Regions from separate parts of the Homo sapiens genome. Here regions 2, 3, 4, 5, 6 and 7 are each linked to region 1. Evidence: promoter capture Hi-C in 16 types of primary human blood cells and fetal thymus (Javierre and others, 2016). All regions are on one chromosome and are shown on one strand. Each heading gives the region's core, a stretch centred on a gene start or on the middle of the fragment in contact. The rest is flanking DNA. Distances are from core to core; before and after follow the strand shown. Region 1 holds the start of ADAMTS1 (ADAM metallopeptidase with thrombospondin type 1 motif 1). Region 2 has its middle 96 kb from the start of LINC00161. Region 3 has its middle 12 kb from the start of LINC00161. Region 4 has its middle 55 kb from the start of LINC00161. Region 5 has its middle 130 kb from the start of LINC00161. Region 6 has its middle 150 kb from the start of LINC00161. Region 7 has its middle 130 kb from the start of LINC01695.

What was found. The method cuts DNA at HindIII sites, captures the fragments that hold promoters and counts their contacts. A CHiCAGO score of 5 or more calls a contact.
Region 2: a contact is called between a fragment that was not itself captured here and the fragment with the promoter of ADAMTS1 in region 1, in 3 of 17 cell types (endothelial precursors, megakaryocytes and total B cells). The highest score is 16.4, in endothelial precursors.
Region 3: a contact is called between a fragment that was not itself captured here and the fragment with the promoter of ADAMTS1 in region 1, in 1 of 17 cell types (erythroblasts). The highest score is 5.1, in erythroblasts.
Region 4: a contact is called between a fragment that was not itself captured here and the fragment with the promoter of ADAMTS1 in region 1, in 1 of 17 cell types (erythroblasts). The highest score is 6.0, in erythroblasts.
Region 5: a contact is called between a fragment that was not itself captured here and the fragment with the promoter of ADAMTS1 in region 1, in 2 of 17 cell types (M1 macrophages and erythroblasts). The highest score is 6.2, in M1 macrophages.
Region 6: a contact is called between a fragment that was not itself captured here and the fragment with the promoter of ADAMTS1 in region 1, in 1 of 17 cell types (M0 macrophages). The highest score is 5.1, in M0 macrophages.
Region 7: a contact is called between a fragment that was not itself captured here and the fragment with the promoter of ADAMTS1 in region 1, in 4 of 17 cell types (M0 macrophages, M1 macrophages, M2 macrophages and 1 more). The highest score is 11.3, in M0 macrophages.

What each region holds. Positions count from the first base shown.
Region 1 is chr21:26,843,936-26,846,780 of GRCh38, forward strand. It overlaps ADAMTS1 (ADAM metallopeptidase with thrombospondin type 1 motif 1), which reads right to left and starts at 1,474. Exons shown (of 9, transcript NM_006988.5): 1 at 290-1,474. The coding sequence starts at 1,019. RefSeq lists enhancers at 1,658-2,258, 2,259-2,845. The HindIII fragment of the contact is 3,865 bases long and covers 1-2,067 here.
Region 2 is chr21:28,634,043-28,636,887 of GRCh38, forward strand. It overlaps a transcript of HEMK2 not described here. Among named protein-coding and RNA genes, the nearest start is that of LINC00161, 96 kb to the left of the region's middle. The HindIII fragment of the contact is 2,848 bases long and covers 82-2,845 here.
Region 3 is chr21:28,550,117-28,552,961 of GRCh38, forward strand. No RefSeq gene overlaps it. Among named protein-coding and RNA genes, the nearest start is that of LINC00161, 12 kb to the left of the region's middle. The HindIII fragment of the contact is 2,651 bases long and covers 132-2,782 here.
Region 4 is chr21:28,483,091-28,485,935 of GRCh38, forward strand. No RefSeq gene overlaps it. Among named protein-coding and RNA genes, the nearest start is that of LINC00161, 55 kb to the right of the region's middle. The HindIII fragment of the contact is 1,531 bases long and covers 686-2,216 here.
Region 5 is chr21:28,411,144-28,413,988 of GRCh38, forward strand. No RefSeq gene overlaps it. Among named protein-coding and RNA genes, the nearest start is that of LINC00161, 130 kb to the right of the region's middle. The HindIII fragment of the contact is 2,102 bases long and covers 519-2,620 here.
Region 6 is chr21:28,385,801-28,388,645 of GRCh38, forward strand. No RefSeq gene overlaps it. Among named protein-coding and RNA genes, the nearest start is that of LINC00161, 150 kb to the right of the region's middle. The HindIII fragment of the contact is 833 bases long and covers 923-1,755 here.
Region 7 is chr21:28,355,419-28,358,263 of GRCh38, forward strand. No RefSeq gene overlaps it. Among named protein-coding and RNA genes, the nearest start is that of LINC01695, 130 kb to the left of the region's middle. The HindIII fragment of the contact is 225 bases long and covers 1,381-1,605 here.

The DNA.
Region 1 (2,845 bases), core at 224-2,723:
AGTCAGGTTACAAACTCTCCCTCCCCGGCCTAAATGCTTTGCTTTAGTTTGCAGAAAATCGTTTGTCAGTTTTTTTCTTGGTTATTCATTATTCGGGCAAATGCAAGTATGTTTTCTAGCTGAGTTCACCAATCCAAACCTCAAACCACATTCCTCCACTCCAGGCCTCCGTTCTGTCCGCGGACTTATGATCCTGCCTGCCAGCAGGAGTCTACCCTGAAGTCGCGTGGGATAGATAAAGTGAGGAGAGGAGGATGAATGGACAGACAAACGAGAGCAATTCTTCTACCTGTGGGCTGTCCTACGCCTTGCAGTGCCGGGTCCTGCGGCGACCACTGAGCCCCTTCGTCCTCGCCCTCAGTCCCTTCGTCCTCGTCTTCGGTCTCCGCTTTCCCAGTCGGCCGGGGCTCGTCGTCCACGACCCCGCACGTGCCGCCGACGTCGCCCTGCCGATTCCGCCGCAGGAGGTGGAACTGTAGTGGTGCCGGCGGCTTCTCCCCTGGGGCGGCGGTGGCGAGGCGCTCGCTGGCGGCGGGCAGCGGCTGGATGAAATACGCCTCCCCCAGCAGGTAGAAGGCGCCGCGCACGCCCTCGCAGAGGCTGAGGGCGGCAGCCGAGCTGGGATCGCCATTCACGGTGCCGGAGTAGAAGCAGTGCGCCAGGTCGGTTTCCGGAAGCGGCGTCTCGGACCCGGATTTGCGCCCCACGTTCTGGAGCGTGAAGCCGGGCGCCAAAAAGCTGCTGTCGGGCCGCAGCTCCAGATCCAGCTGCTGGTCAAAGGCGTGCAGGCGGAGGCGCGTGGTCCCGTGTCCCGGGGCGCGCTCCAGCTCCGGCACCACTAGCTCCTCGTCCTCCTCGGAGGGGCGCCCGAGTGCGTCCGACACGGCCAGTAGCGCCGCGGCGAGCAGCAGCAGCGTGGGTACTGGCCCAAAGCTCCGAGACCCCGGAGCCCGCTCCGCGTTCCCCATGTCGCTGCCCAGCTTGCGCCTTCCGAACCCCTCGGGCACAGCTCGCTGCATTGGAGCCCCAGGAGACACCGCTCGTAGCAGCGCACGGAGCGAGGGACCTTTAGTTCGGGTCGGGAGAGCAAAGCCTCGTTGGCCTGCTCTGGATTGTTAAAATTAACAATTTCTATTATTCGTTGGAAGGGCGCGCAGAGCCGGCTACAGCCGAAGCTCCCGGAGTCACTAAAAGGAGGCGCTGCAGTTCTGCCGGCGCGCGGGAAGTTTTTCTTCCAGCGCAAAGTTGGAGACACTGAGAGGCAGGCGCAGGCAGAGTGGCTCTGCTGGGACAAGAAGCGCTCTGGGGCGCCTCCGGGGCTGAGGCAACGCGGAGATTGGTGCCTGGCGCCCCTCTTCGGCCTCCGCCTTGGCTGCGATGTTGCTCACTCTGCTCAGGGCTCTCCCCTCTCCGTCCGGTAGCGCACCCTGGCTTTGCAATAGCCCCTGGCTCGGAGCCGCTTTCCAGCGAGTGCAAGAACCGGGCAGCCGAGCGGTCCTTTTATAGTGGACCAGTGAAACCCCCACCCCCACCCCACTCCTCCCCTTTGGCCCTTTTCCATCCCAAAGACGCCGCCCCCGGCTCCGTTGGTGCTAAACCGCGCTCCGCGCTGCGGGCTCGGGAGGGGGAGGGGGCAGCCTCCGCGCTGGCTCCACGCCACTGCTCGTCAATCTAGGGGCGGAAGGGGCGCTGTGACCAGCACTTTGTACTGCTGGGGCCGCTCCAGGGAGAAGACTCTCCCTTCCACCGCTTTTCTCCCTCGCCGGTTTCCTGGACCACCCTTCCTCCCCACCGCCCGGTTGCGGTAACTCAGTTACCGCGCTGGGCTGCGGTTCCCAGGAGGGAGGGTTCGGTTGGAGAACGCAGTCCCTTCTTCAACATTTCCCTATCCTGGAGCTGCCCTGGGTCTCCTTCCCTCCTCCCTCAGTTCCCTCTTCCCCAATCTAGGAGATGAGCTAGGGCTACACTTTCTAGAAAAATACCTCACCCCACTTCTCCACCTTCCCAGCCTGCCAGGAGCTCCTTAGCCGCCGCCTGCTCTCTCTTCGCCCCAGCTTTTCTAGGGAAAGCTTGGCCCTGCGCTTCCCCCAGAAAGCATGCCTGGGTGAGGGGCCAGGTGACACTTCCTACGATCTGGATTTTAAAATATGTTTGCTTATGCCTTCACCCTCCACCAACCCCCACCCCGCACGCCACCTCTTCACCAGAGACGACTTTGTGAGGGCCCGGTTTCACATTTCTGGAATGGGTGATCTGGGACGCGGCTCAATTCCCTAGAGCATAAGGAGGGAATTGCGCTTTTTCTTCTTCATTCGAGAAATGATCGGCTCCCGCCAGTCTGCGTGCTTTCACTCAACAGCAGCTGCAAGCCCTAGGCCAGCGTCGCAGAAACGGCCAGGAACCCCACTTTCCTACCCGGGGGCCAGCAGCGATCGCTGGGGCTAGCAAGCGTGCAGAGGGGGAAAGAAGGAAATCGGCTTCCTTCCCGGACCCCTCCTTCCTCTTCCTACCAGGAAGGGAAAAGGCTATATCCGCGTTACGAAAGCGAGGAGAGGTCCACCAACAGGTCCTTAGGAAAAAAAACTGAGTGGCTCTTCTCTCCAAAAAGTGGGAGGGGCTCAAGGACCCAGAGGAAGGACGTGTTTCACAGGCGGAAAGCCGCGGGGACAATGGCGAGAGCGACCGCCCTAGCCCCGGGCGGACCCGCAACCCTCACACTCGCGCGCCCCCGCGTTAGTGCTCGAACTGGTCTCCGCCTTTCCGCCCCACTCCCGTCCGGTCTCTTGGTTGGCTCCAAGTAGATCTGGGTCCTTTCCTCGCTCCTCCCCAGATCTTCCCCACTTCA
Region 2 (2,845 bases), core at 256-2,755, 1.8 Mb after region 1:
CCTTTCCAATGACTGACTGCCCGTGGCGTCACTGCCATTCTGAATCATGCAAATGAGAATGTCATATCCTCTGACTCAAGAAGCTTTATCTCATTAAAAATTATTTTGAGAACTCCAAGCAGAGAGTTGGTCTTTGCTTAGATCTGACTTCCCAAATACATCACTTTTCCTTTTCTCACGGGGATCCAGCTGATTTGGAAGGAGACTGGGAAGTGTGCAAGGGGGGAATCCTATGGAACTGAGCTTGGGAAGCAGGTATTTGCTGGCAGGGATGCTCTCCTCCTTTGCTGAGAGGCTGTGGTCCACAGCCCTTGCCAAATCTGTCGCAGTAGCTAACAGTACATTTCCATGTATGTACTATTTTCTCCCAATTTTCCCCAAGGAAAGGGCGAGTCAGGATATGCACGCATAGCACAGGACAAAAATAGCCTTGTTTAAGTAGATAAGTAGCTATTAAGTGAAGTTCCTTGACTTTGTCTATTCTGAGCACCAGTATTTGCACTAGTCAGGCAGCATCCCCCTAGGTCAACTACCTGTGTATTCTTGTACTCTCTACTGAAAGACAGTATGCACAGGGCTTATGAAAACAGACATTAGAAATAGGATTTGAGTCCTTGGGGTAGTTGTGTGACTTACTGGTTATATGAACTTAGACAATTTACCGAACCTCTCTGAGCTTAAATTTGCTCATTTATAAAATGGGGTAATACAAGTTTGTAACTTATAGACGTATTATAAGGATAAAATTAATTAATATACTGCATATAAAGTTTCTAGCTCAGTGACTGACACATATTACGTGCTATGTGATGCATATGTTAAGTGCTTGTGAAGGTTAGCTGTTACTATTACACCAGGTATTCTTGAACATTTCTTTAACTCAGAGTTAAAGCCAGGAAAGACATGTGTTACATTTAGTTTAAAGGATAAAAAACAATATAGCATAGACTTGGGAGTCTGGTAGTTTATCACGCAGGTAAATGCTATAGCAGTTAAAAGTCAGCAAAGTTCAAAATTAACTCTGAATGATCTATGATCTATGTGTTTAATGTCCTCATCTTTTTTTTTTTTTTTCTTTAGATGGAGTTTCGCTCTTTCTCCCAGGCTGGCATGCAGTAGTGCCATCTCGGCTCACTGCAACCTCCACCTTCCGGTTTCAAGTGATTCTCCTGCCTGAGCCTCCCAAGCTAGCTGGCATTACGGGTGCCTGCCACCACACCCAGCTAATTTTTGTATTTTTTAGTAAAGACAGGGTTTCACCATGTTGGCCAGGCTGGTCTCCACCTCCTGACCTCGTGATCTGCCCACCTCGGACTCCCAAAGTGCTGGGATTACAGGTATCCTCATCTATTAAGTAATAATCAAGTCTTCCTCATGAGATTTTAATGGCACTTAAATCAAAGGAAGTAAAACATCAAGCCCACAAGGATTAAGTGTACAATTAATGTTAGTCATCATTACCACTAAAAATTAACATGAGCTTAAATATATACAAACTATAGAATATAGGCAGCAGGCTCCATTCATTTAAAAACTACTGATACTACACTACTGTGTACCAAGCATGGTTCTACACATCTTATTTAAAAATAACTCATTTATTTAATCCTCATAATAGCTCCAGGAGGTAGGTACTATATCACCTAGCCCTATTTTAAATATGAGGAAACAGTGGCCACTCCATTACTAAGTTGCAGACTCATGATTCACTCCCAGGCTCCCAAGACAATGCTCTTTCAGTGCTGTCTAATAGAACTTTCTACAATAATGGAACTGATTTGTCTGTGCTGCCCAGTATGCTAGGCCCTGGGCACGTGTAGTAATTGAGCCCTTAAAATGTGGTAAATATGCTTGAGGAATAGAATATTTTATTTCATCTCATTTTAATTAATTTAAATTTAAATAGCCACAGGTGGCTGGTGGCTATTGGACAACACATGCATAGACCACCCCGTTGCATTGCTTTATTAAAGGGCCAGTTCCACTGAAGAAACTAGTAGAGACCCTTATCCACACTGTGCTTGTTCCACACTTGCCTACAGTGGTTGTAGTTCCTTCATTCGGGACCTTTATTACTATCTTCTTTAAAAATAAGTTGCCTTTTTTGGTACATTGAGTATCTTCAGTACAAGGAAATTTTGCCTTCAAAATACCCCACTAATAATGGTTCATCCTGTAACTTTTTATCCCTTTTGCCTACTTGTTGTACTTGCTTGATGCCAGACACTATTCTCTAGCCACAGGTTACATGCAGCTTTCCGCACATGGCCACCCCATGTTCTCCAGTTAGGACACGGGTTCTATTTTGCCCTCTTTTGTAGAGCTAGCAACTGCTTTATTGTTGTCTGAGCTGAAAATGGAGCCTTGATGGACAAAAACAGACATCTTATCACTTTTTAACGTAAAACCATCAAACTTGGCTTTCCGTTGATCCACCAAATTATGCTTTTACTTTTGCCTCCATTTCATAAAATTAACTACCCTAAGCATGCCTGTCTAATTGCAAATTTCCATTCCCTCATGTCCAACCTCTGCCTCCCACTGCACCACTGTAATTTGCCAAGTGAAACCTGCCCAAGTTCAGAGAGACTCAGGCAAACAAAACTCACGAAAAGGAGTACTTTTTTGTCCGGAGTTAAATCAATATTGCAATGAAGAAAATAATCTCCTTAGAATGACAGTACATGCATCTTGCTTCCCATTCCCATTTTATGTAATTATCTGTGCTGTGATGCTCGATCCAAACAAGTGCTGTCTCATTTGTAATCAGGGCAGAGAGTACGACTCCATCACTTTTACCCGAGTCCCTCATACAGCATTGCTTGTGATCAGAATTTTCAAAACT
Region 3 (2,845 bases), core at 207-2,706, 1.7 Mb after region 1:
TTAATCTCAAAAAAGGTTTACACTCCGATCCCTTTATTTCAATCTACATATTCTTAAACTGCTAAATGTCTAGAAATAATTATAATACAACTAATGTTTACTCAGTATTTACTATGGCACAACACCAGAAAAGCTTTTTATGTGTCATCTCATTTTATTGCTATGGCAAACTTACAGGAGAGATATTATCATTATGCCAATTTCACAGATGAGGAAGTTAAACCATCATTAGACTAATTCTAATTTTAAAAGCCTAGTTTGCACATTATGCACTATTTATACATGGACTTATATATTGACAGAATTAGCTACCTCCTAGGGTTTATGATATTTTCATTATTTTCTTTTCTAACATTTAGGTACATAAAGAGCCTATGTTAAGATTTTTCTAGCTATAAATAAAGCAGCTTTGTTTATATGATTGCCTTCTGTCATTTGACAGGAATGCATATAAATAGGAAACCAAGTAAATACATTTTATTAAAAATAGGAAGCAGACAAAGAAAAAGTCAAAAAGTTCAGGATGGATGCTTCTTACTGCAGGCACTGAAGGGGAGGAACTGTGGCAGTCAAAGGGTTACACAAGAACTTACAACTTCCTGAGCAGTTGAAATAATCAAAAAGAAACAGAAGCTATCCTAATAGTAACATTTATTTACTTTTACCAAAATAGTAGGTGTCTAAGATCTACAGTAAGCTACTGATTTTTGCATTTACTCTACTGATTTCCTTGTAATAAACAGAAAACTGATCAAAGGCAGCCTTCTCAAATTACTTATATTTATTACAAGATTATTCTACCATAACAAACAAATCTCCAAAATAGAAAAATTTGATTTTTGTGGACCAAATGTTGTTATTTATACACATTCATTCTCCTCGACAGGCATATTCCTTTAGGGTAGAGGTAAAAGCCCTTAGGTGAGTGCCTATCATGGTCCATTAATGTCTTAGGCCATTTGGGCTGCTATAACAAAGTACCATAAACTAAGTGGCTTATAAACAACATAAATTTATTTCTCAAAGTTCTGGAGGCTATGAAACATAAAGCCTTCTGTTGCCAGCAGATTCAGTGTTTGATGAAGGCTGAATTTCTGGCTCATACACAGTAATATGGTTTTGTTCTCTGTCCCCCCAAAATCTCATCTCAAATTGTAATCCTATGCCAAGGAAGGGAACTGGTGGGAAGTGATTGGATCATAGGGGCAGTTTCCCCACGCTGTTCTCATGATTGTGAGTTCTCACAAGATCTGATTGTTTAAAAGTATTTAGCAGCTCCTCTATCACTCACTCTCTCTCCTGCTGCCTTGTGAAGAAGGTGCCGGCTTCCCCTTCACCTTCTGCCATGATTGTAAGTTTCCTGAGGCTTCCCCAGCCATGCGGAAATGTGAGTCAAACCTCTTTTGTTTATAAATTACCCAGTCTCAGGTAGTTCTTTATAGCAATGTGAAAATAGACTAACACACACAGCATCTTCTTACTGTGTCTTCACCTGGTTAAAAGGGTGAGGGGTCTGTCTCAGACCTCTTTTATAAGGGCATTGATCCCATTCATAAAAGCTATGTACCCATGACCTAATCACCTCCCACAGCGCCCCCCCTCCTCCCAGTCCTAATATCATCACCTTGGGGATTAGGATTTCAACATATAAATTTGGGGGAACAAACATTGAGACCACAGCAGATAGCAGTGTCTTGGGGGGATAATGACTTGGGGCCCTTTTTACCATATATCAAATGGATGCTTTCTCCCTGGTAGCTTCCTAGGCCATTGCTCTAGATTGAATCCAATAAGAAATCTCTCATGAGAGCAAATTCCAAAAAGCAGACCTTCCGGAAGGAGGACAGAAGAGAGAGAGCATACCTGTGCATGTTTCAGTGGGAGCAATTGCCATGGAGTGTAAGAAAAAAGAGATCTTATACCCCTGTATTCTGATTAGTTCCTCCAGGAATTTTTCTGTTCACATCCTTGATAAGATGGCTTGCACACAAATTATAAAACAACAACATATTGTTTGTAGATATGATTAGTGCCTATGTTGGTTCTATTATCCTACCAAAACTAGCCTTTATAGTCATGCAAATAAGGTATCCCTAATATACTGATGTTAATAAATTTAGTGGTGTTGATTAGTGGTATGGCCAGAAGTGGACTTAGAATCATAATTCATGCATTCAAACACTCGGCAATTTTGCAGTGAAACACTATGTTGCAGTAAAAGGCATCATTTTTGAGATCAGAGAGTCCTAGACTTAAATACAGCCTTTGATATTTATAAGATACATCAAAATAATTAACCTCTTTGCATCTTATTTTCCATCCATTTAAACCAATAATAGTAATATTTTCCCTGAAATACTATTTTGAGAATTAGAGATAAGTGCTACAAAATTCATGATGCTCACATTTGGAACATAATAAAAAATTATTAAAATTATTGTAAAAGAAAAAATACAACAGAGAAAACCAAAACACAAATGGATTTAAATGATTAACAAAAACCGATAAATGACTAAAAAGATTCTTTTAAAAAGGAAGGACACATTAATAACCAATTACCAATATCAGAAATAAATGTGACAATATCACTATATATCTTACATACATCCAAAGGCTAATAAGAAAATATTTTCAGCAAATTTATACCAATAAATTTGATAATTGAAACAAAAATTTTCTTGAAATAACACAATTCCCCAAAAGTGACACAAAAAGAGACAATGTGAATAGCATTAAAAAAATTGAGGTCATAATCTAAAACTTTTCCACAATGGCACAAGAAAGCTTCAAATCAAGATGGCTTCACTGATGGATTCTATCAAACATTTACAATCAGTTTTATATA
Region 4 (2,845 bases), core at 201-2,700, 1.6 Mb after region 1:
TGCAAATGGAATGCACAGTAAACTTAACTTGTAGCTCGGATAAAAACATAAAAGTACTTCCCTTTTGAAATCCTGTTTCGGGGGCTGGAGGCTCCAGAAGGTGCATAGAAGAGGGAAAAATGTGTGCCTCTAGGCAGAAAGTGAATGTGTTCACCAGCTAAGACTAAGGATATACTGAAGAAATATGCAGGTACCTGGAATGGCTAAGAAACAGGCATCAGAAGGAGACTCAGGATGGCTTTAGGAAAGAAAAGCTAAAAGTGGTTTCAAAACCAAAGGGAATCTAAGAGACACGTGTGTGACAAAGGACAGTAGCAGAAGTGGTGTGGGCAGGCCCAGGAGAAGGGAGAAGTATTCCCTGCATCCTTCTTTGGTGGCTGAATAACCAGGGGCCTCCAGGGAGGGCTGGGGGCAGAGCAAAACTCTTGGTCATAACATGCCTGTTACAAAGCCAGTTTAGTAATTCCTATTAAGTAAATTTTGTCCTATTATATTTTTTTTCCAAAAGTATTGAGTTAGGAGTGCTTACAAAGGGGAAGTCCTAAACCATATCGAGCTTGTCCTCATAACATGCCTCTTACAAAGCCAGTTTGGTAATTCCTATTAAGTAAATTTTGTCCTAATTTTTTTTTCCAAAAGTATTGAGTTAGGAGTGCTTACAAAGGGGAAGTCCTAAACCATGACAAGCTTGTCCTCCAGGGGCCTGAGGTCAGGAGGTCAGATATCCGTATCTTTTTCTTTTCCCATGTATGGCCATCACATTCCAAAAGTCAATATAATAGAGTAACAAGAGAAAATCTGAATCTTTGCCTGGAAATAATTCAGATCTCTAGTTTTTCTCCAAATTCTTAAGTTTAAATCTCTCAAACAATAAAACAATGCAATGAGTCATATGGAACCCTTTATTAAACTCTGACAAATCAAATCATCAATCCATTTTAAATTCCACACTTTTCAACTTTGAAGTAATTAAAATATTCCCTTGAGATGAAAGATTTGAAAACATAATTCAATAGGAAACTTGTGACAGAAAAAAAGGATCTGTTTTATAGATTAGGTGATTGCTGAAAACAGTTTTCTAAAATTATTGCATATGCATTTATTTGGAATTGTTGCGTCTTGGAATCACAAAGTGGGGTGGCCCAAAAAAATCTGTCTAAATGTGAAGATCAGCATTCTAAATAGCCCTACTTTGAGAGTAAATGAGATTGGCACATCAACACTCAATAACTATAACATGGATTGCAAAATACTGAAAGACAGAAAAGAAAAACCCTCTGGAAATGCTATCTTCCACCACCCTCTCCTACACATATACAGACAAGATGTTTTCCATTTTTTTTAAATACAGGAAACATTTGTGGGACAAATGTAGAATAGGAAGAATTGAATCAGGCTCCGAAGTCAGCTAAACTTGAAATAAATCAGAATTTAAGGTCACAGATACCTTTGCCCTGTTTCTTCCTGTCTGCTTGTCATTTCTCAAAGCCTAATACAAAAACTACAGCCTTCCATGACCTTTACTTCTTCTGAATTGCAATTTTATTGATTGTTGGAACCAATCATTGTTTCCTTTTATTGATAGACATTTTAATTCATATACATATATGTTTTGGAGAAAAGAAGATAAATGTCTTCAAACATTGGGTCTGGATTTCCCATATTAAAACTAGATTGACGGCTGGGCGCGGTGGCTCACGCCTGTAATCCCAGCACTTTGGGAGGCCAAGGCGGGCGGATCACGAAGTCAGGAGATTGAGACCATCCTGGCTAACACCGTGAAACCCCGTCTCTACTAAAAATACAAAAAGTTAGCCGGGCGTGGTAGTGGGCGCCTGTAGTCCCAGCTACTCAGGAGGCTGAGGCAGGAGAATGGCGTGAACTCGGGAGGCAGAGCTCGCAGTGAGCCGAGATCACACCACCGCACTCCAGCCTGGGCAACAGAGTGAGACTCCGTCACAAAAAAAAAAAAAAAAAAACACACTAGATTGACTTCTGTTATTATTCGAAAGAATTCAATTCAAATAGTAAGAGAAGATTAGATTAAATAACGCATTTTAAATGAAAGACTGTGGCTGAAATGATTGACAAGAATCAATCACATGTCAATTCATGCAGCCAGTCTGTTAAGGTGTCTCTTTGTACATGACAGAATTCCTCCCTAGCAACTATTGGGACTAAAATCAGTTTCAAGATGGCCACTGTCTTCCCCTCAAAGCTTTATTGTCAAGAGTTTGACCACAGCTCATGTGTGTACTCTACTGTTGAGATTTCATATCCCAGGGAAACCCAGATTCAATATTGAAGAAACTTTCTCAGAAAGGCAGAGTTGAACCCAGTATGTGTTATAAAACAAGCTTCCAAGCTGCCAACCTTCCCTTGGCTAAATGTTCTTACATAACTGTGGGTTTATGACTTGACACCATCTCATTCTATGCTCTCTAGACAATTGGAATAAAGCAGGGAAAATTACGTCAGACAAAACCATATGATGTACTTACTTCATATGTCATAGTGTTAAAGTAGACATCCCACTCTAAATGGACTCTTCAGAGCAGCCTGGAACATCACCACCTCCCCTTCATTATACTGTGCAGTGCACCATTATTATTAAGCCAGTTTGTTCTCTTTGCCTCCCTTCCTGTTTCCCTCCCTCCCTTTTCGTGAAGCAAAATTATACACGTAACACTTTCACAAATGTTAAAAACAGAGCTATGGGTTTTGTGATTTTTCTGGCATTGCTTCATACCACCAATCATTCCTTCTCTCCAAACTTGATGAAATCATAATGATTCATAAGCTTTGGTTGGAATGGTTGTATGATATACTCTTGTAGAGGCAATAA
Region 5 (2,845 bases), core at 320-2,819, 1.6 Mb after region 1:
ATACTTCCCTCCACCTGGAATGACCTTCCTATCCTGTGAGACTTTTTAATATCTGCCAGTCTTCCAAGACTCTGCTAAAGTCCTTAATAAGTATTTCCTACCTCCCTATTTTAAGGCAAATGCTCCTCTTCCTTCTGTTTTAAGAGTTGATTTTGGAGGTTTAGTCTCCTGTTTCTTTCAGGTTGTGAATACTTTAAAAAGACAGTCACTATTTATCTCTTTCCTCTGCTTCCAATGCCCAGCATAATTTGTAACCCACCACACTTAATCAAAACCTCCTTGTTCAATGAAAACATGAATAAAGCAAGCCAGGCAGTTGCCAGGTCTGCCTCTCTGGTGAGTTCTCTAGTCTTAGGTGTGTAACTGATTCCTTGGCATGTCCATCTCCACTCATCTCAAATCCAGTACTTTCAATACTTGAAACAATACCTCAGTTTACAATGGAGATCTCCCAATTTAAAGCTTATTCTCTAAGAATTTCCCATTGAAACCAGGATTTTCTCCTCTGTTAGACTGTAAGCTTCTTACGTGACTATTGCATTTCCCCTAGAACTAAATAATTCTTAACCCATGTATGTGCATAAGTTTGGACTAAATGAAAGGTTAAATAGTAAATACAAATACTGGAAATGTAACTTGGAGCCAGTTGGTAGGAAACTAAAACCAAATGTTGGCTCTGCCTAGAAGACTTTCTACTTGGTCTTTGTCAAAATCCTTCTCCAGTGTCAATTCCTCCGTTAAACTCTTCCTCAGGTTCCACTTCGCAGATGGTACTTGGGAGATCTGTTATTACAGTGGTTTTGAATGTGCTTTTGCCCACTCCTTCCCCCCACCATCTCCCAACAGTAAGGTAGCTGAGGTCACAACTTCCTATTGCTTTTAGAAAAATACCTTGCCCAGACTGGACATTTGTAGCTATTTGGCTGAACTGAGGCACCAAGAGCTGGGACCCACAGACTTCATCAGAGGTGTTAAGAGTTCAAGAGAAGTGATCGGGTACGCAGAGAGCTAGTCAGCAATAGAGAAGCCCCAAAAAGCTGACAGCTTATTTCACAAGTCTTTGCCCCTTTCAGAAAAGGAAAAGACAGCTCTGGAATGTTCTAAGTGACCATTTCTTTTCACAGGAACCCTCACCATTATCCACTCCAAAAGGGCCAGATAAAAAGCTGGACTCTGCCAAGCACCCTCAAATCCAGTTACATGACTAAACCGTTAAACAGACATCCTGATTCAAAGGCCCGGGGTAACTTGCCCTAGCATTTCCTATGAGAACATGTCTGTTTAATAACAATGTAATAACAGATAATAAGGACACCAATCACAGAGAGAGCTGGTTCGGCCCAAGTTAAAAGTTGATGATAATTACTAGACTAAACAAATTATTAAAAATATGTCTCTATCTTCAATCTGAATTTTTAAATACTTAAGAATAACTTGGGAACTGAGGTTCAATTTAGTAAGCATCATTATAACTAATACCAAATGGTTTAGCTACAATTGTACTTTGAAAAGTTTTGGGAATTTTATTTTATTTTTTTTTTGGCATGTCAGGGCAGATGAAATTTCAAAAGAATACATACTTCATTCCTTCTGAAGTGACCCTTAATTATTTGGGGAGGAAAATGAGATGAAGCCTATGTGTCAACATATGCTAGACACCCTTAGTCTGTACATATGTGGACACATTTCAGACATCATAGGTGGAAAATGATTTTAAATGTTTTAAAGTACTTTTTCATTTGAGAAGCAAGGGTAACCAAATATTTACTGTCAAAAGAAAAAGAAAATTGACCTACTCCTCTTCTTCATATCTAAAAATATGTTCATTATGAACACATTTGGGTTCTCTACTATAGGGAACAAATTTCCTAGATCTGAGTAACAGTAATTTGTATTAAATCTGTCCATCAAAGAAATCGGTATTCCAACTCCCCTAAAAGGTGGTGGGGAGTAAAATTAAATACAAAAGTTTTCAAAAAATTGGGTGGTATTTTTTATCATCAAAGAGCTATGAAATAACTTTTTTTCATTAAGAATATTTCACTTTGAGACTTTTATTTCTGCCCTTTCCATAACATGTATAATGTTTTTCCTAATGTCATTTTTCCTGGCCGAGAAGCACGTTAACAAAAATAGAGATTTTTTTTTTAAGTGGAGGTGGAGAGAACAGGAGTGTTATGTCACAAGTGACTTCAAATGGAAGAAAAATACCAATTCCACATTTTATTCTGAAGAGAGAATGGAAATTTAAAGATAATGTTCACTAACTTTCCCTGTGTGCCCATAGTCAACCAAAGATTTCTGTGTCTGCTTAACCCAGCATTGATCCAACTAATAAATTGTTCCTTTATAGAAAATAATCTCTGTCCCAACACAAGAGGAAGCAGTGTGAATTCTTTATTTTTAGCTAGGCTGCATATCATGAATCCTTGCCATGTTGAGGAATTGTGCTACTGATTCTTTCTACTAAAGACCATTTGGGGCATTTGAATTAAGTAACCTGCTCTTCATGCTGACTAATACGGATAGATTCTTACCATTTTCCAGTACTTCATGTAAATATTTCCAACTCCTATCAAATAAAACTAGTATTTCTTGACTCTTTTAATATACTTCAAGAAGCTTTTATGTTTGTTTTGGAATGTTTTAATTTTCACTTTATTGATTTTTAGCTAAAATGTTACCCTTTTACTCTACAAGTTAATTTTGAGTGGAGTGAGAAAAACCCATGTTTCAAAACCAGATGAGATTATCCCTGTGTGATGTTGCACTTATGCACTCTTTGCAGTTAGCAAATATAAATAAAATGCACAGGAATAGCGTTCATGGCATTTTTCTTTTTTTT
Region 6 (2,845 bases), core at 89-2,588, 1.5 Mb after region 1:
GCCCTCCCCAGACAAACCAATAGTGTACACAATCTGCACATTTAATAAGCATCCTCAAGTGATTCTGATGCAAGTAGGCTGTGAATCTACAATGTAAAAGGTTAACAACGTAAACAATTTACATGCAACAATGTAAAAGGTTACAATGTAAAAGGATAACAATGTAAAAGGTTTGCTCTACTATAGTCTATGTGTGGTGTCACATTAATCCTCTAAAAGGAAAACTAACTCATGCTGCTTGCTTGATTAATAATTGATAAGTACTTAGAGTCTCCTATGACATGTCCTAGACCTACTTTTCAAGCCAGACTGTCTAAACCAATCTTACTATTTTTGTCTGTATTCCTAAATAATACCTTTTCCATCCACATAAATTTGAAGCTCCCCTTCCACACTCTTAGATGCCCTCTTCCAGATTCCTTACCTCCATGTTACTAAATAAAATCCTAACTATTTTTAAAGGCACAATTTTAAAAATCCATGTTTACTCTAGTTAGAAATAGGGTTTCTCATTTAACTAGTTGCATACACTAGATATTATCTTATCTTGAGTTATCATATCTTGAGTTACATTTTATGTGAGTATACATTTCTTATCACCCAACAGGGTACTACCTTCATGTTTCTTTGCATTTTCCACAGCAGTTTCCATAGCATAAGTATACATCAGAGATGGGCCATCGGTGTTTGCTAATTTAATAAATAAGGTCACCCATTAAGCCATATAAAGATCTTACTTCCACTAGGGAATTGAGGAGGCAAATTGAATATTGAAAAGGAGCTTTAAAAATGTCATCTACTTCACCATAAGATTTCACACAGCACTCAACCGTATAGACACAAATGTATTGGGGAAAAATTGCCTGTCTTCTGTAAACTAAAATCAAAGTCATAACAAAATTTTCTTACACATTTTCTCCCAAGCTTGATTATTGCAAGTAAACAATTAACTCAAGTAAAATTATTAGAGATGGTACTTTCCAAACCTTTCTTATTACAATCCCATTCAAGACCAAGGGGTATAAACTGAATCAGAAAAAGATGTAGGTGTACAATAAATTATTGTTAATCATACTCACCCTATTCTGCTACCAAATACTAGATGTTATTCATTCTATTAATACAAACCTGTAGTTTTGTACCCATTAACCATCTTCACTTTATCACCCTTTCCCAGCTACCATTCCCAGGCTGTGGTAACCTTTATTCTGTTCTCTATCTCCATGAGTCCAATTTATTTTTTAGCTCCAAGAAATGATAAATACTTAAGGTGATGGATACTCAAGTTACCCTGTTCTGATCACTACACATTGTATGTCTGTATCAAAACATCACTTGTACTCCATAAATATGTACAACTATTATGTACCCATAGCAATTAAAAATATATTTAAAAATTACAGGAAGAACAAACAGTACAGCAGTAGAACTATAATAGCCAGATGTATCAATGACAAACAATAAAACATCTGAAAACAAACAAAATAGAAATGTGGGCACAGTGAAGACAAAAGCAATAACTGAAAGTAAGTGGTTACAATCAAAATAGAAACACACAGCTGGCAAATTAGTTTTGCAGAAGAGTTTAAGTTTTCCTATTTCCTTGGCAACTGAAGAAGGTTGTGATGTTAACTGCTTAGACATCTGCATCCTCAGAACCATCTCCTCCTTTAGAAACTAGAATAAATACCAAAGTAATACTACGGGCCAGAATATACTACTCCTTAACAAAACCAAATGAAAGTAATGAAATAAAGCTTTTAATATGTGAATTATCTTTGGTTTAATGCCTGAGAGGGATTAATTATTTTTTGTTTTCTTTGTTTTCTTTAGAGAAAAGTGAACGTCCATGTAATGGCAGGAATTTCCTGAGGTTGCTACATTCTAAGTGTTTTGGACCCTCGAGCTAATCATTACAAACTATCCCTACACTCTTAGGAGATCTTTATTATTATTCTTTTTAGGTTAAAGTTGGCACTTGATTATAGACCCAGTTTGCTCATAGCCTGTAGAACATGGGCATGAATACCAAGAAACAGCCAAAGGCAAGCCAGATTTCAATCACAGAAGACTCTTATTTCCCACATTAGAATAAATTTAAACTGACAAAGGACAAAAGTCAACGATATAAAGTCAAAACTAAAAATACAAAGGATTTGGTATACAATTCAACATTCTAGAAATGTCAGTTCTTTTACCTAGGTTTTGTGTGTGTGTGTGTGTGTGTGTGTGTGTGTGTGAATCTCTAAAAACAGATGGTTATGTCTTAGTAGTCACAGTACTCAGTCTGCCATCTTGCCAGTATGTACCTGATCTGATTTAAAAGTGCAGGGACTTTTTTCCCCCAAATATCAAGCTTTGTTGTGATAATGTCAGAATTATTCATACTTGGTTAGGTACATAGGTACAGGTACAGGAAGCCACATATAAGAATCACCCAATTATTTACTGAATTTCATTTTTTGTTGTTATATGTGATATAAAACTTATGTGAAAGAAAAGATAGAGATTAATAGAATAAATTATCTTTAAGGGCATAATGCTATAGCTGTTTTTTAAAGAGCAGCTCAATCTCCTCTCCTCTCTTCTCCTTTTCTCCCTTTTCTCACCTTGCCTCGCTTCTCCCATGCTTCTCCTCTCCTTTCCTGTCCTCTCAGAAATGGAGAAATGGAGTTGAGTAGCTATGGGTAATTGCAAGTGGTTCAATGAAATATAGGCCCTTGGAAGCTCAAAGTTAACAAACGGAAGTTAATAATGCTTGCAAAGTGTCTTGAGGTGAAAATGTATTTTCCTAGTCACAGATATAAAAAGTAAATAACTAGTATGTGTTCATCTGTGAAATCTT
Region 7 (2,845 bases), core at 243-2,742, 1.5 Mb after region 1:
CGTTTGCTGTTCCTGTGTTAGTTTGCTAAGGACAATGGCCTCTAGCTCCATCCATGTCCCTGCAAAGGACATGATTTTACACAAGAACACATAGAGGGGAAGAACACACACTGGGGCCTTTCTGAGGGTGAAGAGTGGGAGGAGGGAGAGGATCAGGACAAACAACTAATGGGTGCTAGGCTTAATACCTGGGCAATGAAATAATCGGTACAACAAATGCCCATGACCAGCTTTACCTATGTAACAAAGCTACGCTGGTACCCCTGAACTTAAAATAAAAGTAAAAAAAAAAAAAAGAACTTGCCATAAGCGTGTTAAAAGAGGAATAGAAATTGAGAATATGTAATACAAAAGAAAAATAGAGTCATGCCTACTGACCACATTCTGGGAGCCATCACACAAGCCAGCTCTGTTGGATTGATTAATTTTATGTAGCCACAGTGTGGCTAGAACCTTATCATGCATCTTATTATTCTTTTCACATAACCTCACGCATATCTCACCATTGAGGACAACGGTGAGAACCAGTCTTGTCTTCATTCTAGAATTAGAGTAATAGGGACAACAAAAACAACAACAAAGTCATGGAACATCTAACTGTCCTTCTATCTAAATGTCAACAAACAACTCTGATGTGTCATCCCCACCCCGCTTTACAGTGAATGTTGTCCCAATTATAGTTATGATCTTTGTATTCTGGAAAATGCCAAAGGCTGATGCGCATAAAAGAAGAGGTCCATTCCAAAGAAGGCCAGGGAAAAAGGTATCGAGAGATGAGGAGAGCCTGGAAGATAAACCTTTTGGCCCAAATATAGCTTCCCATTCAAAGAAAGAATTCTACAGCGGTCAACGCTTCCATCTCCAAGACCTATTATGAGCACATTTAACTTCTGGCCAGATTCCCAGCATTTCTGCTGTTCTTTGACTTTTCTACTGGTCCACAATGATGGAAATTCACACACAAAAGGATATGTAGAGTAAGAGTGCACAAATATGGGCATCTTCTATTCACCCATTGAAAGACAGGGTCCATTTCTGAAGGCATGCTTGCTATTTCCACCAAATAAAAGGAGTAGGAAACATAAAAGGTCTATTAGATCATCTTGTCAACTCTTTTTCTTAGTTTCGTCAACAGTCCAGGATGCTGTCAAATGAAACTCCTCACTTTAGGGCATCTCCAAGGATAAAGGCAAGGCACGCCTCTGGAATTTACATAGATTCCCAGTCTGCCAACCAGCTACAACAAGGTTCTATGATTCATGATTAGAAATGATGAAAGAAAGTAACACTGTTTATCATCACATACCACCTCCCTGTGTTTCTTTCTCCCAGAATTAATAAATGCAATGACACTGAATTCACAAAAATATTGTATTTTTAAGCTTTCATATGCAATGATTCCTTTCATTGCTATTAATAAACAAGAGGACTCCTCCAGCTGAACTCTTTCACTGTGTGTGTGTGTGTGTGTGTGTGTGTGTGTGTGTGTGTGTGTTATATCTGACAAGTTTGCTGTACTGTGCTAATGAGCCCTAACGGTTTTAACATAAGTCCTGCAGGGCTGGACTACTTGAGGCTTATTCCATCATTGAAAAAAAATGCTCAAGCTTATGGCCATACTAGACGTTCAGATAGCTTGAAGTGAAATACAGTCTGTCAATCTGTTCAGTGTCATACCTATAATCAGAATGCTGGGAATGTGCACAAGTCCTTGTGCTTTTTCTTATGAATTGGAAGACTTTTCTTTCTTAAATAAAAGGAAACAGATCATGCAGCATGTTGAGTAGAAACAGGCTGGTGCATAACAGGAGAAGAAAATCCAATGGAATAGCCACACACAGATTGCCTTTACTTCTAGGTTGGCAGGCAATGTAAGATTTGGAATTAACACCAGAAAGGAATTTCTCCCATCTCTTTCCATGGAGCTGGCTCACTGATGTTCAAGCCATGTTAATAGTCTCAGACTGCTGGCTCTGGAAAATGCTAAAGGTATCAAAAGGCACTCAGAGATTTACCAGTGAATCCAAAATATAAAAGCATTTATCCAAGTGCACCCAGTTTCCCAGTCTTCATTAATAATCAGGTAATTGAAAGTGTTCTCATCTCTAATGCCTAATGCAGTGAATTATGTGCAGTCTTGCCACCACATCTATGAGGCACGTTAAAGCCCATGGTGGGTTCTCAACCCTGGCGGCATGCTAATGTCACCCAGAGAGCTCTCACCAAATACCTACATCCAGGGCCCATCCCCAGAGATTCTGGCTTAATTGGCCTGAAGTAGAGCCAAGCCTTGGTATTTTGTATTGCTCCCCAGGAGATTCTAGTGTGCAGCCAAGATTGAAAGACTAAAATGAACAGGCTGAATCTGAAATGAATTATAGATACATTATAATAACATGTAACTCTTTATTAGAAGACTCAGAACTTTCTAGAAAAAAATTCCTCTGACTCCTCAAGACTGCTCTCACTACTTCACTTAATGTCTCCTGTGTATCTCAGAGATCAGGAGTTACTTGGCATAAAATGTGTGTGAGAGGCAGCCTTGCGTAATGGTTAAGAGCACGGTGTTTATATTCTTGGGTTTAAATCCTTACTCCTATTTAGTGGTATGATCTTGGTTGAATTACTTAGTTCTGTTCCTCTACTTTCCCTCTGTAAAATGGTAATAATAGCTCCAGTTGAAAGGATTGAATGACTCAATGTGCGTGAAACACTTACACTGTGCCTGGCCCATGGGAAGCTCTACATATGTACTGGCTATTACTATCCCTAAACTGCCATTAGCTGAAAAACAAAAATGTATGAAAATCCAAACCCAAAGTGTTTAATGCTTGAACAGCGTTCT